Regions from separate parts of the Homo sapiens genome. Here region 2 is linked to region 1. Evidence: promoter capture Hi-C in 16 types of primary human blood cells and fetal thymus (Javierre and others, 2016). All regions are on one chromosome and are shown on one strand. The core of a region is centred on a gene start or on the middle of the fragment in contact, and the rest is flanking DNA. Distances in the headings are between cores, read along the strand shown.

Region 1 (5,673 bases), core at 2,714-5,213:
CTCCAGCCCCAGAACTCAGCCCCCACAGCTCTCACCAGCACAGCAAGGCCTCTGTGGCTGGAAGAAGCAGTCCAGACATGGAATCATCGAGCATTTACTGGGCACCTACTCTGTGCCAGGGCTTAACTAGGTCCTAGGAATACAGCTCCCGGGAGCTGGGATGGCATGCAGGCCTCAGGCCCTGTGTGGGACCTGCCTGGTGGTAAGGCAGGGAGAAAGCTAGCCTGGCAGTCAAATGCCCCTGAGGGGTGTGTCTGTGGAATGGGGGAAGGTGCAGTTCTGTCCCTGGGAAAGCACCAGGGCTCTGGGTCTGAGCCCCACAGGCTGGTGCCTCCAGTGCCTCCCTGGGCCTCCAATCCCTGTCTGCACAATAGAGCTAATGCCACCCTCTGCACTGGCAGGCCATTAGGAAATTAAGTCAGCTGACCCAGGGCTGGGTCCTTGGCCAGTGCCCAGCGGGGGCTCTGGTCCTGCCCCGAGCCCAGCACCTCAGAAAACCCACCTGCCTCTGCCAGGCCCCCCCCCACCCCCAACCCCATGGTGCCTCTGAAGCTCTGGCCAACCTGCACACGGCCCAGTTTCAGGCCAGCTCTCTTTCATCTTCAGCCTTTCCCTGCTGCCGTGTCCCCATCACGCTGCCAGTTCCCGGCACAGCCATCCCGTGGGGCTGAGCCCCCACCCACCGCACCTTCCATGTGGCCAGCCAAGCCTCCACCCCTCCTGCTGCCCGCAAGCTGCCCCCTCCCTGACTCTCCTCCACGCTAGCCGGTGGCAGGGCTCCAAGGGCAGGCCCGGGGAGGGGCAGGTGTACCCATGTGTCGCTCACAGTAAAGCCCTGGCCAGGGCCCAGCCACAGGCACCAGCTGCACCTGTTGGAGGAAGGGCCCAGCCCAGAGCTGGGCCTGGGAGCAGGGGGGGTGAGGGTGGCCACTGGGTGGGCACCGTGTGTACCAGTAGCCTTCTGCCTGGGGACCTGGCGAGGGCCACAGAGGTTGATGACAGTAATGATGCACTCACTTCCGCCCCAGCCATATGCCAAGGCCTCCGGGTGCCACGCTTGGTACTGCCAACTGTGGCCCAGGGTACCGGAGGCCTGGCTAGGCAGAGAAAACTGCCCATAGGCAGAACCGGCCCCAGTGCTGCAGAGCTGCAGGTGCTGCTGCTGCTGTTACTCCTGTTATCACTGCTGTCATTATTATTTTGCTGTTGCAGGGCCACTCAGTGTTACTTTGTCCTGCTTCAAGGAGACCCAGGGATGGGGACACCATGGCCCTGGGGCAGGAAGGCTGGTGGGGTAAGCGCCTGGCCTGGAAAGAGCTAGGTGAAGGCATCTGTCCAAACCCAACCCACTGCATGGTTTTAGGCAATACCCCTCCACCACTTCCCAGGCACCTCTTCCTTCCAGCACAGTTGAGGCACATTCCTGGAGGGGTCCCCTCCGGGGCAGCCTGGAAACCTTATGGGGTTTTGACGGGGTAGCTGCAGGGGGAGTGTCCAGAGATGGACTGACAGCTCAGGTCCTGCCCCTCCCAGAGAAGGCTCCACCCCCTTCAGTGCTGGGGATGAGGGGTGTCAGCCATGCCCTCCCCTGGGAGGGGAAAAAGGAGGTGATAGAGGACTTGGAGCCCCTACCTGCCAGCTCTGGGTCAACAGCCAGCATTTACAGACTGCCTACTGTATGCCTACAGCGGCCCTCCAGTGGAGAAGAGGGGTGTCCCTGTGGCCCAGCACACTGGAGCCACCCTCCTCGTCTCCAGGGTGCTCGAGTGAGTGCCCTCCGCCCTCACTCCCTGCTCTCTCTCAGGCGGCTTGGCCCCACCAAATGGCAGGCCCCCAGGGTCCCCCTCCTAGAGCTGCCAACCTCGGGTCCCCTGTCTGGTTGGAGGTGCCACCAGAGAACTGAGGGGCAGACTTCGCTGTGAAGTCTTTTGTTGGGGGGGGCGGTCCCAGCAGACACTGAGGGGCTCTTCTCAGAATACAGAAGGGAGTACCCCTCAAAAAGAGCGAAAGCCTCTGGTGGCGCCCAGGGCTGAGATGGACCTCCCCTCTCTGACCCTCGCCCGCCACAGGGCGGCGGTCCAGGGCGGAGCTGCGCGAGGAGGGGCCGCGGAGGTGCAGCGCAGCGCGAGGGAGGCTGGGGTCCAGCCGCGCGGCCAGGGACCGGCTCTCCTTTGGCATCTCAGAGGGGGCGAAGGCTAGGCCCAAGGCTAACGCCTTCCGGGTTCGCACCTTCCAAAGGCGGCTGCCGATTTCAGTGGCGTGTGGGCGCCTCGGCGCTCTCGGAGACGGAGCCTGTGAACCTGGGTTTGGGGCGCAGATGTGGGAGCCAGGAGGTCCCCAGCGCTTTATTGCAGGGCTCGAACCTGGGTATAGGGGAGCAAAAAAGAAACTAGAAATGGCCACAGGCAGCGCGGTACTCTAAGATGGGAACGCCCCCTGGGAAATGGGGAGGGGGAGGTCCCAGGTGCGGGCGAGTCCAGGCTGTGAGGAGGCAGGAAAACCTCCCAGAACAAGACCGTCCCCAAAGAAACACTTTGACCCCCATTCTGATCACAGGTTTTAAAATATTCACATGACATGGGCACGCTGGATCAAAACCGAGGCACAGACACTCGCTTGGGCCTCAACTCCCATCTGAACCCCCCAAGGAGCGCCCCACCCCAGCTGTCTCTGCCCATGAGCCCCTGATTCCCGCCCCGCTCCCCCAGGGCACCCGGAGAGGCCGTGCGCGCGCAGGGTGGACCCTGGCCCTGAAACCCTGGGAGCTTCTCAGCCAGCGGCCATCCCCTCGGAGATCAAGGCCGACTTCTAAAAGCAAAAGGGAGCCTCTGGACTTGGCTGACTTGCTGGCATGGAATCATTTCCAGAATATTTTTACTCCATTACAGCACGGGAGGTGAGAAAGAGACACGACTCCAAGAACCCGCAGGTCTCTGACGGGAGGCATTCTCGGGGCGGCTCATATAGCCCGGGCGCCCACCTCCGAACCCCACCTCGATCGCGGGGTCTCCGGGAAGGTCACGCGTAGGACCCGTGCCGCGCGCCAGAGTGCTTCCGCACGCTCCCTCCCGAGCCCCCTAGTGCAAACCAGTCAGAGGGGGGCCGAGGGCTCCTCAAAGTTTCCCGGAGCGCCCCCCAGGACGAAGGTTAGCCAGGAGCAAAGTTCCTTGTGGTGGTAGCCGGAGACATGGCAGGAAAAGAAAAGCTCGCAGTCAGCATTTCCTCCGATGTCTCACCAAGGGAGGGAAAAAAATAAAACGAGAGGAAGAAAACACCCTCCCGCTCCACCTTCCCTGTTGCTGCACAACCTCGTGCTAGCTCCGGGCCGGGCTAGTGGCGAGGCGCGGCCTGCGGGGAACTGGGGCCGGGCCCGGGAGGGACCATGCGCCCGCGGCCGCGCACTTACCTCGGTCAGTGGCCCGGGCGCGGCGCGCTCGGCGTCCTCCAAGCTCCGGGCGGCCGTTCCTGGCCCCGGCAGCTGCCGCGCTGGCTGCATCGCCGCCGCTGCCGCCACCGCCTCAGGGCAGCTCCCGGGGGCGCTCCATGCCGAGGGGCGCGTCTTCTCTGCAAAGCGGATCGCCCTGGTCCAGCCACGGGTCGGGGGCGCGCGCCTGGACGGCGCCCCCGGCCGCTGGGCGCTCGCTTGGGCCGGGGCGGCTGGCGTCGGTCCCTCGGTCCGGCTGTGAGCACGGCCGGCCCACCCCCTCCCCCGCCGGCTGTTATCTGATCTCGGGCAGGGCCCGGCGCGCTCCCCTACGCCCCGGCGCCCCGCACCTCCTCGCAGGCTCTGACCGCGCCAGTCCCCCTCCCCCGGCTACTGTTCCCAGGGAGGCGGCAGCAGTGGCGGTGTGGCCGGGAGAAGACGGGGAGCGAGGAATGGAGGGCGAGGAGGCGGCGGGAGGCAGAGGCTCGGCGCGCACCCAGCTCCGCGCCTCGCTCCACCGGAGCTCAGCTCGGCAACTCCTCTAACTCTCCGCGGAGAGCACGCCCGCCCCGCGCCGCGCCGCGCCGCGCAGCCGCTGCACCAGCCTACCACGGCTCCGGCCTGGCCCCGAGCCCCTCCTAGTCCCGGGCCGCCCCCTACACACACACCGCCAGCCACTTGCGCACTGGGACGCGCGCGCGCACACACACATATATATATACACACACACACACACACACACACACACACACACAGGCACGACTTCCCGGGGACATGCGCGCACACACACATACACACACATGCAGGCACGTCCGCCGGGGACACGCGCGCACGCACAGGTGCATGGCGAGCACACACACAGGCATAAACATGCAGGATACATGCCCCCACATGCATGATGTTCGCAGGGGCACATGTGCACACTCGCTCATATGTGCACATGCAGGATGGCATCTGCACGTGTGCATACGCACACACAGGTCTAAGCTTGTGCATTCCCACAGAGCCCTTTTCCCCTGCACACCAGGCACGCACCCTCTACACACACCATCCCACCCTAATAGCATTTTTCTCCTCTCCATCTTGAGCTGCTTGGCTTCTCCCATCTCCTGCCTTCTCTGTGCTCCTCCCTGGACCTCTCTCTGCCGACCGGATCCCCATGTGACCCCCTTCTCTTTCGAGCCCCTGTCTCTGGAGGCTCAGGCTTTCTTCCCAACCTGTCCCCAAATGCCCTGCCCTCCCAGCTTTCTGAGGCCTATTGTCTGGGCCTCATATCTCTGAGCCTCCCGCAGGGGCCAAGTCTTTCATCCTGGCAGACAGACCTGCTCGCCTGGACACTGACCCAGGGGAACTCCATTTTGTCACCAGTCTGACCCCCAGCTCGGCCCTAGGGCCTCAGAATTGGGCCGAGGAGGCCAGTCTGTGCCCAGAGCATGAGCCTCAAAGGGCTCCTTGGCCCCCTTGGCCTCCAGCTTCCCCTTTAATGTGAAATATAATTATGTGTCTGCACAGCAGGGAGACTGGCTGCAGGATTCTAACCGAGGAGGACGGCTCTCTGGCCCGCACCCAGATTGCTGGCGGCTCAGAGCAGAGTGATCTGCAGGCCCCACCAGCCCTAGGATCCTGGCCCCAGGCAGCTGGTGGGTGAAATCCAGCCCAGCACTCACCGACATCAGTCTGCCCTGGGTTTGAATCCCACCTCAACTGACTAGCTGTGGGACAGGTCACTTCACCACTCAGTGCCTCTGTTTCCCTGTTGTCAGTAGAAATCACTACACTCATGGGGCTGTAGCAAGGATTAAATGAGATGAGTCTACCTAAAGTGCTTAGCACTTGACTTGGCTGGTAAAACAGCCAGGCGGAGCACTCAATATGTTCTGAGCTCTGTGCTATGGACCCAGCTAGAATTATTTCATTACCACTGCGGCCATCTGTGGTGGATAAGCTCATTGGCTCCATTTTACAGATGAAGGAACTGAGGCACAGAGGGGTGGTCACTTGCTTAATTACAGAACTACCAGATGGTGGAGCCAGTACGCAGAATCAGGTGTGTCCTCAACTTAGGGCTGCAGTGGAGAAAGAAGGGGCATCGCAGAAGTCTGCAGCCCCCACCCTGCCCTGCCTGGCACACTGTGTCCTGGTTTCCTCCTCCTCCTGGGAGAAACAGCCTCCCAGGGGACCAAAAGCTCTCAGGAAACTTCCTTCTTCTCCCTCCGAGTGACCAAGGAGGGAAATGACTCAGCTCCCCA
Region 2 (5,694 bases), core at 2,858-5,357, 55 kb after region 1:
AGAATATCACCGTTATGCAACCACTAATTTGTTTTAAATTTATTTGCAACCACTAATAAATTAATGAGTCCAGGCACTGAGCATCAGCAGCTGCTAATACCACAAAGAGAAGACAGAACACTGCCTCCCAACAGAAGAGCAGAGAACTCTGCACCAAGTGTTCTTGCCAAAAAAAAAAAAAAAAAAGTCCAACCTGATCTGGTCAAGTCACTAGACCAGCTACCGATTTACCGGAAATACAGACTACGGGAAACTCTACAATCTAACAACCCAGTTTCTTCAACAAATAAATTATGAGGAAGAAAACAGGGAGGGGCAACCACTAAATGAAAGACACCAAGGCAATCCATCAGCCAGTGGAGACGCGGGGTCTTATTCAGATACCAAATCAAACCATTCTTTTGTTAATTCTATTATTCATGAGACATTTGGAAATCTGAACAGAGACTGAATGGTTGCTGATATTAAGGGATGGTTGTTACTTGTGCAAATACTAAAGACTGTTATTGTCATTTTTTAAGATCCTAATCATCCAGAGCTATGCTCTGAAATATTTGTGAATTAAATTATACTGTGTCTGGGATGAATGGAATGAATGTTTAGATAATTTGGGAGGGGAAGTAGCTGAGGGTAGAGATGAGACAGGACTGTGTGTGGGCATCACTGCTGCAGCTGGTGCTGGCTTCCTGAAGGTTCCTTATGTGACTCTCTGTTTCTGTGTATGTCTTAACTTTTCATAATAAAAGGCTCGTGTATGTAAATTTTCACACAATAAAAAATTTATATTTAGAAAAAAGGCTAGAAGGAATAAATCAACATGCTAGCAGACGGGATTATAGGTAAAATTACTTTTTAAATTGCTTAGTATCTTCAATAGTACTTTAAAAATCTGGGAAAGAGATGAAACCAAACTATCCCACCCTTCCCCGAGGAAGGTTTTGCCTGTGCTCTGCAGGTGGTCGGGTACATTGGCACCACTGGACCAGGCAGACATTTGGCTGTATCAACCACGGCCCTTACAGGCAAATGCACTTCCCCTACCCGACTTCTCTTCTGGGAATCATGCCCGAGGAAATCATCTCAAATCTGAAATGCCAGCAAAGCTGCCTGCGCAAGGTGTCCACGTCGGGGCTATTTACTGGAGTGGAAGCTGGAGTCAGAGGCTGCGTCCAGGGCAAGGAGTGTCTCGGGGAAGCCACGGAAAACGGTAACCACGGGGCAGAAGGCCGCAGACTATGCTGGGGCGCCAGGGATGCGCATCTGCACATCTGACACATTCGTTTTGCAAACACGTGTGGGAAATGGACGGAAGCCAGTTATCAGCCTCCCGGGACACCCCGCTAATATTTAAAATGGAAACGCCCCAACCCCTCCTGGGGGAACCTGGCTTTCTCAAACTGCCCTGGAAGTTCCCAGGAGGCCTAGGGTCCCTCACCCCACTGCTGCCATGTTCCGTGTCGTTACACTCGCGACCTAGCTTTGTCGTTTTCTACTTGTCCCTGCCCGCCTGGAGGGCTCCGTTTACACCCGCTCCTTTTCCCCACCTCCGACGCCCCTCCCAGGCTGCTGCCTGTGTCCACTTTCCCTGAAGATGGAAGAAGGTCGGATTTCCCTAGGAGGGTCCTCATAGGACCTGCCTGGCCACTCCTTGCCCCAGGACGCCCTGGGCCGGGCACCTCCAGAAACATCTTCCCGCATCCCCGGCAAGAGCTCCCTTTCCACAGACACAGAATCCTCTGCATATTTTCTTACACGAAGACCATTCTTTCTAAAAGAATCTTGTCCCCGCTTTAAAGTTTGTGCTCCCTCCCTGCAGAGGGAATGACAGTCCCCACCTCTATTCCCCTCCCGCAGCCGTGGACCCCACTGTCCCGGGAGCGACTGGCTCCCTTATGAAGACTACATTTCCCAACGTCCTTTGCGGCCACGGCTGGCCATGTGACCCAATACTGCCAATGGGGTGCGAGCGGCGCGAGGAAGTGGATGAACCCACACCCGGCAGGGCAGAAAAGGGATAGAACTCAGTCCGCCGTCGCCACCGTGAACCACTGACTGCTACAGGAGCGAATAATCGTCTACCTTGTTTAAACCATCATTAACTTGGGTTTTGGTGTTTGTTTGTTTGTTTGTGTGTTTTTCGAGACGGAGTCTTGCTGGGTCGCCCAGGCTGGAGTGCAGTGGCGCGATCTGGGCTCACTGCAACCTCCGCCTCCGGGTTCAAGCAGTTCTCCCTGCCTCAGCCTCCCGAGTAGCTGGGATTACAGGCGCCGGCCACCACGCTTGGCTAATTTTTGCATTTTTTAGTAGAGACGGGGTTTCGTCATGTTGGCCAGGCTGGTCTCGAACTCCTGACCTCAAGTGATCCGCTCACCTCAGCCTCCCAAAGTGCTGGGATTACAGGCATGAAACACTGCGCCCGGCCGGTTTTGTTTTTTAATAAGTAACCGAGCCTGCATTCTAACCAATAAACTCATTCTATTAAAACACGCCTGTGGTGCCCAGGGCCAGCAGGTTGTCTCATGTCAGGTTCTCCCAGAAGCCGAGCCTGAGAGCAGGATTCAGGTGCAAATGTTTCCCTAGGGAGTTTCTTCCAGCTGAAACCAGCGAGGGAGCCAGGGAAAAAGAAGGAGAAGACAAGCAAGGGTTTCTTCAATTTCCATCCCTGCCGTGGCCTGAGCCCAAGGGAGCTCTGCAGCACAAATTATGCCTCTGAGTTTGTCCTGCCTTAAGGCAAGGGGCTAGGCTTTTCTGCTGCATACTTCCCTGAAGCAGGTTTGAGATGCAAGGGTTAGCAGCACAGCACAGAGCAGGCGGGGAGCTGGCTTGTCCCAGTAAGGAGGTCTGTAGGCTCTGGTCAAGGCACCAACATTACTCTATGCCCAGGAGTCCCGGACTCTTCGCAGCAGCTTTCCAGGCCCTCAGTGATTTCCACAACGTCAACCTCCCCCACCCACCTCGGCCCACCTCCTCACACCTTGGCCTAACAAGATGAATGAGTGACAGCCCCACAAACACTTCCCCAGGACCTTCAACCAGGAGTGCAATACCCCCACCCCAGCAGCCTTCGTCCCCAGGACCTCCAACCAGGCACACTAACGCCCAGGCCTTCATCCTCTGCCTCCCGGAGATTTCTGGCAGACACCACAAGACCTGGGATAGGACTGCTTAGCAAAGCATGCTGGCATTTGCCCAGAGAGGGTGTCAGGTCCCCGCCACGGGACTGAGAACGTGGAGAATCAGAGAGGGGCAGTGACTTGCCCAGGGCCACACAGCTAACAGGAGGGAGGAGCTGAGATGGTGAGGAGAGGAGAAAGCAGTGCCACAGAGAAGTCTAAAGGTGCGAGAGAAGCTGGGGGAAGTAGACCTCAGACTGTGGGGAACCACCAGCGCTGGTGTGGAGGGCGTGGTCCAGTGGGTCAGCAAGGATCCCTGTAACATCAGGCGTCATTTGCCGAGCACTTCGTCATCAGGTCCTGTTCTCCCCACCATGATTCTCAGAGGCGCTGTCTCCTTGGGTTCTCCCAGTACACTCTCAGACACTGAGAAGCTTTGGACTCAAGTAAATCCTAGGAAATACCCATAGGGAAGTGGAGAAGTGAGACAGGGAAGAGCCAACCAAGGCCATGTCATCAACAGAGCTACCGCTGGGTGCAACTGGAGCTCCATCCCTTGGAGATGGCGCAGGATATACACTTCCAAGTCTCCTCTCTCGGCTGGATGGATGCTCCTGAGGAACACCAGCCTCAGCTGGCTGGCTTTGCACTCACGCAAGCAACCTTGACCCCTCCGCTCCACTTCACAGCAACCAAACCGTGAGGGACGTGGTGACTCGCTGAAAGTCATCCACAGACAGAAGGGACCAAGTGGGCCCCAGGAGGGGGTCTGGGTACCTGGCCAGGCTCTGCCCTAGCTCCAATCAGGGCTCCAGGACTCCAAGACGGCAGGTCTGTGCCCACTTACAAGCACAGCCTGTGAAATCTCAGAGTCCCAGGACAGATGCCTCCAGCCTCCTAGCCCAAGGTTTAAGGGCAAGCCCAGCTCTGCCATGGATGTGCATCCTGAGGGACCCCACGGGGACAGATTGTAGTTGAAGGCAACTATAGGAAGCAGAATAAACTTGGGTTTGGCCCAAGAGGAGGCAGTGGAGGCAGGGACCAGGGGGACAGCATTATTCATGGAGTACCTACTGTGTGCCAGCCTGTTCCATGCTGCAGGGTTCTGTTGAAACCACCTGCAATCCTGCCAGATCCTGCCCCAATTTGCAGATGAGGAAACTGAGTCTCTGAGAGGTGCAGTGACATCTTCAAGGTCATACAACCTGGGGTGAAAGTGTCAAATTCAAGGTTGTCTGACCCAAGGGCTGGGGACAGTGGGGGCTGAAGAGGCACGGAGTAGGGCTCTGAGGGCAAACAGGTGTGATCTTGCGCTGCTGTTGTTCTTAATGCAATCAGATGACATCTCTCCCCGGCTCACAGCCCTCCAGTGACTTTTGCCCTGAATATGAAGTTCAGCCTCTCTGCCATGGCCTGCAGGGCCCGTGCCATCTGTCCTTCAACCCCTTGGTCTCTTGGGTGGCAGAAAATCCCTGCCTGCCCCAGGGGCTTTTAAATTCAAATGTAAAAAAATTAATTAATTAAATGTAATCATTTAATGGTAATTAAGCTTAACTAGTTTAAATGACTTTGCTAATTAACTTAGAGTTCACTGCTTCTCCTTAGGGAGTGATCATGGGGTGATGCTGGAAGAATGGGGGGAGCACAGCTTTCCGCGAAGGTGGGTGCCTCCTCCCTGCCTGACACCCTGGCTGAGCAGGTCCAGGTCTGTCTGAGCCCTGGTACAGCTCTGGTTCTAGAACACAACGTGGCACATAGAAGGTGCTCAGATAACACGTGCCATGGGCCAAACCCTGTGGAGAACAACCCAGATAAGGCCCTGCTGTCAAGTTCATGCTGTGCCTCCTTTTCCTTGGATGTTGTGGGAATAGGGAGCCATGGAGGGTTTGGGAGGCAGACAAGGAAAGAATTTCCTAGGCTAGTTCACAGAGCAACTCCCCCATCCCCAACCAGAGCTTGCAGCTGCTGCTGCCTCGCCAGGCCTCCCCAACTCAAGTCCCCAATAAGGCTGGCCCAGAACAGGAATAGAGCAGCCCACGGCTTCTGCGAGGACAGAGGGGGTGGCTGCAGCTAAACCTGGCTTGGCAGGTGGCTCACTGGGGCTGGGCAGAGCCTCAGCTGGGGGTAGGGACTAGGGGCAGGACGCCTGGGTTTCTGGGCTTCCCTGGCTCTGCCTCACTCTCTGGTGGCCTCAGGAGGGGTCAGAGCCTCGCTGAGCCTCTGTAACCTCCAGGAGAAGCCGGCTGCCCTGGGCGTGAAGATACACAAGCTCTGATAAACATAGTACAGCCAGTGTATATATAGACCCTCCCACCTGGTTTCCAAAAGGATTTGCAACAGCTTTCACAAGAGGCAAAGAAATGAGCATTGAGAGTGAGCCAGGGTTTACACATGGGCCCCTCACGTCACAGGCCTGGGGAACTAGAACAGGGAAAAGAAGATGGAACCCAGATCCCTCCAGGAATCGCGTCTGTATGGGAGTGAGCTCCCCATCAGGGCAGGTATGCAAGCAGAGGCCAGCAGGCCTTGGTGGGGGTGTGGTTGAGAGGATTGGTGCATCAGGGAGAGGTGTGGTCAGATG

What was found. Contacts are between HindIII fragments. The CHiCAGO score rates a contact against its expected background, and 5 or more counts as called.
Region 2: a fragment that was not itself captured here is called in contact with the fragment with the promoter of KCNJ12 in region 1 in 1 of 17 cell types (megakaryocytes); the score reaches 6.3 in megakaryocytes.

Annotation. Positions count from the first base shown.
Region 1 is chr17:21,374,647-21,380,319 of GRCh38, reverse strand. KCNJ12 (potassium inwardly rectifying channel subfamily J member 12) reads right to left here and starts at 3,963. Exons shown (of 3, transcript NM_021012.5): 1 at 3,407-3,963. The HindIII fragment of the contact is 5,395 bases long and covers 1-4,413 here.
Region 2 is chr17:21,319,401-21,325,094 of GRCh38, reverse strand. No RefSeq gene overlaps it. Among named protein-coding and RNA genes, the nearest start is that of MAP2K3, 38 kb to the right of the region's middle. RefSeq lists enhancers at 1,898-2,027, 2,068-2,177, 2,188-2,237, 1,691-2,364. The HindIII fragment of the contact is 1,115 bases long and covers 3,550-4,664 here.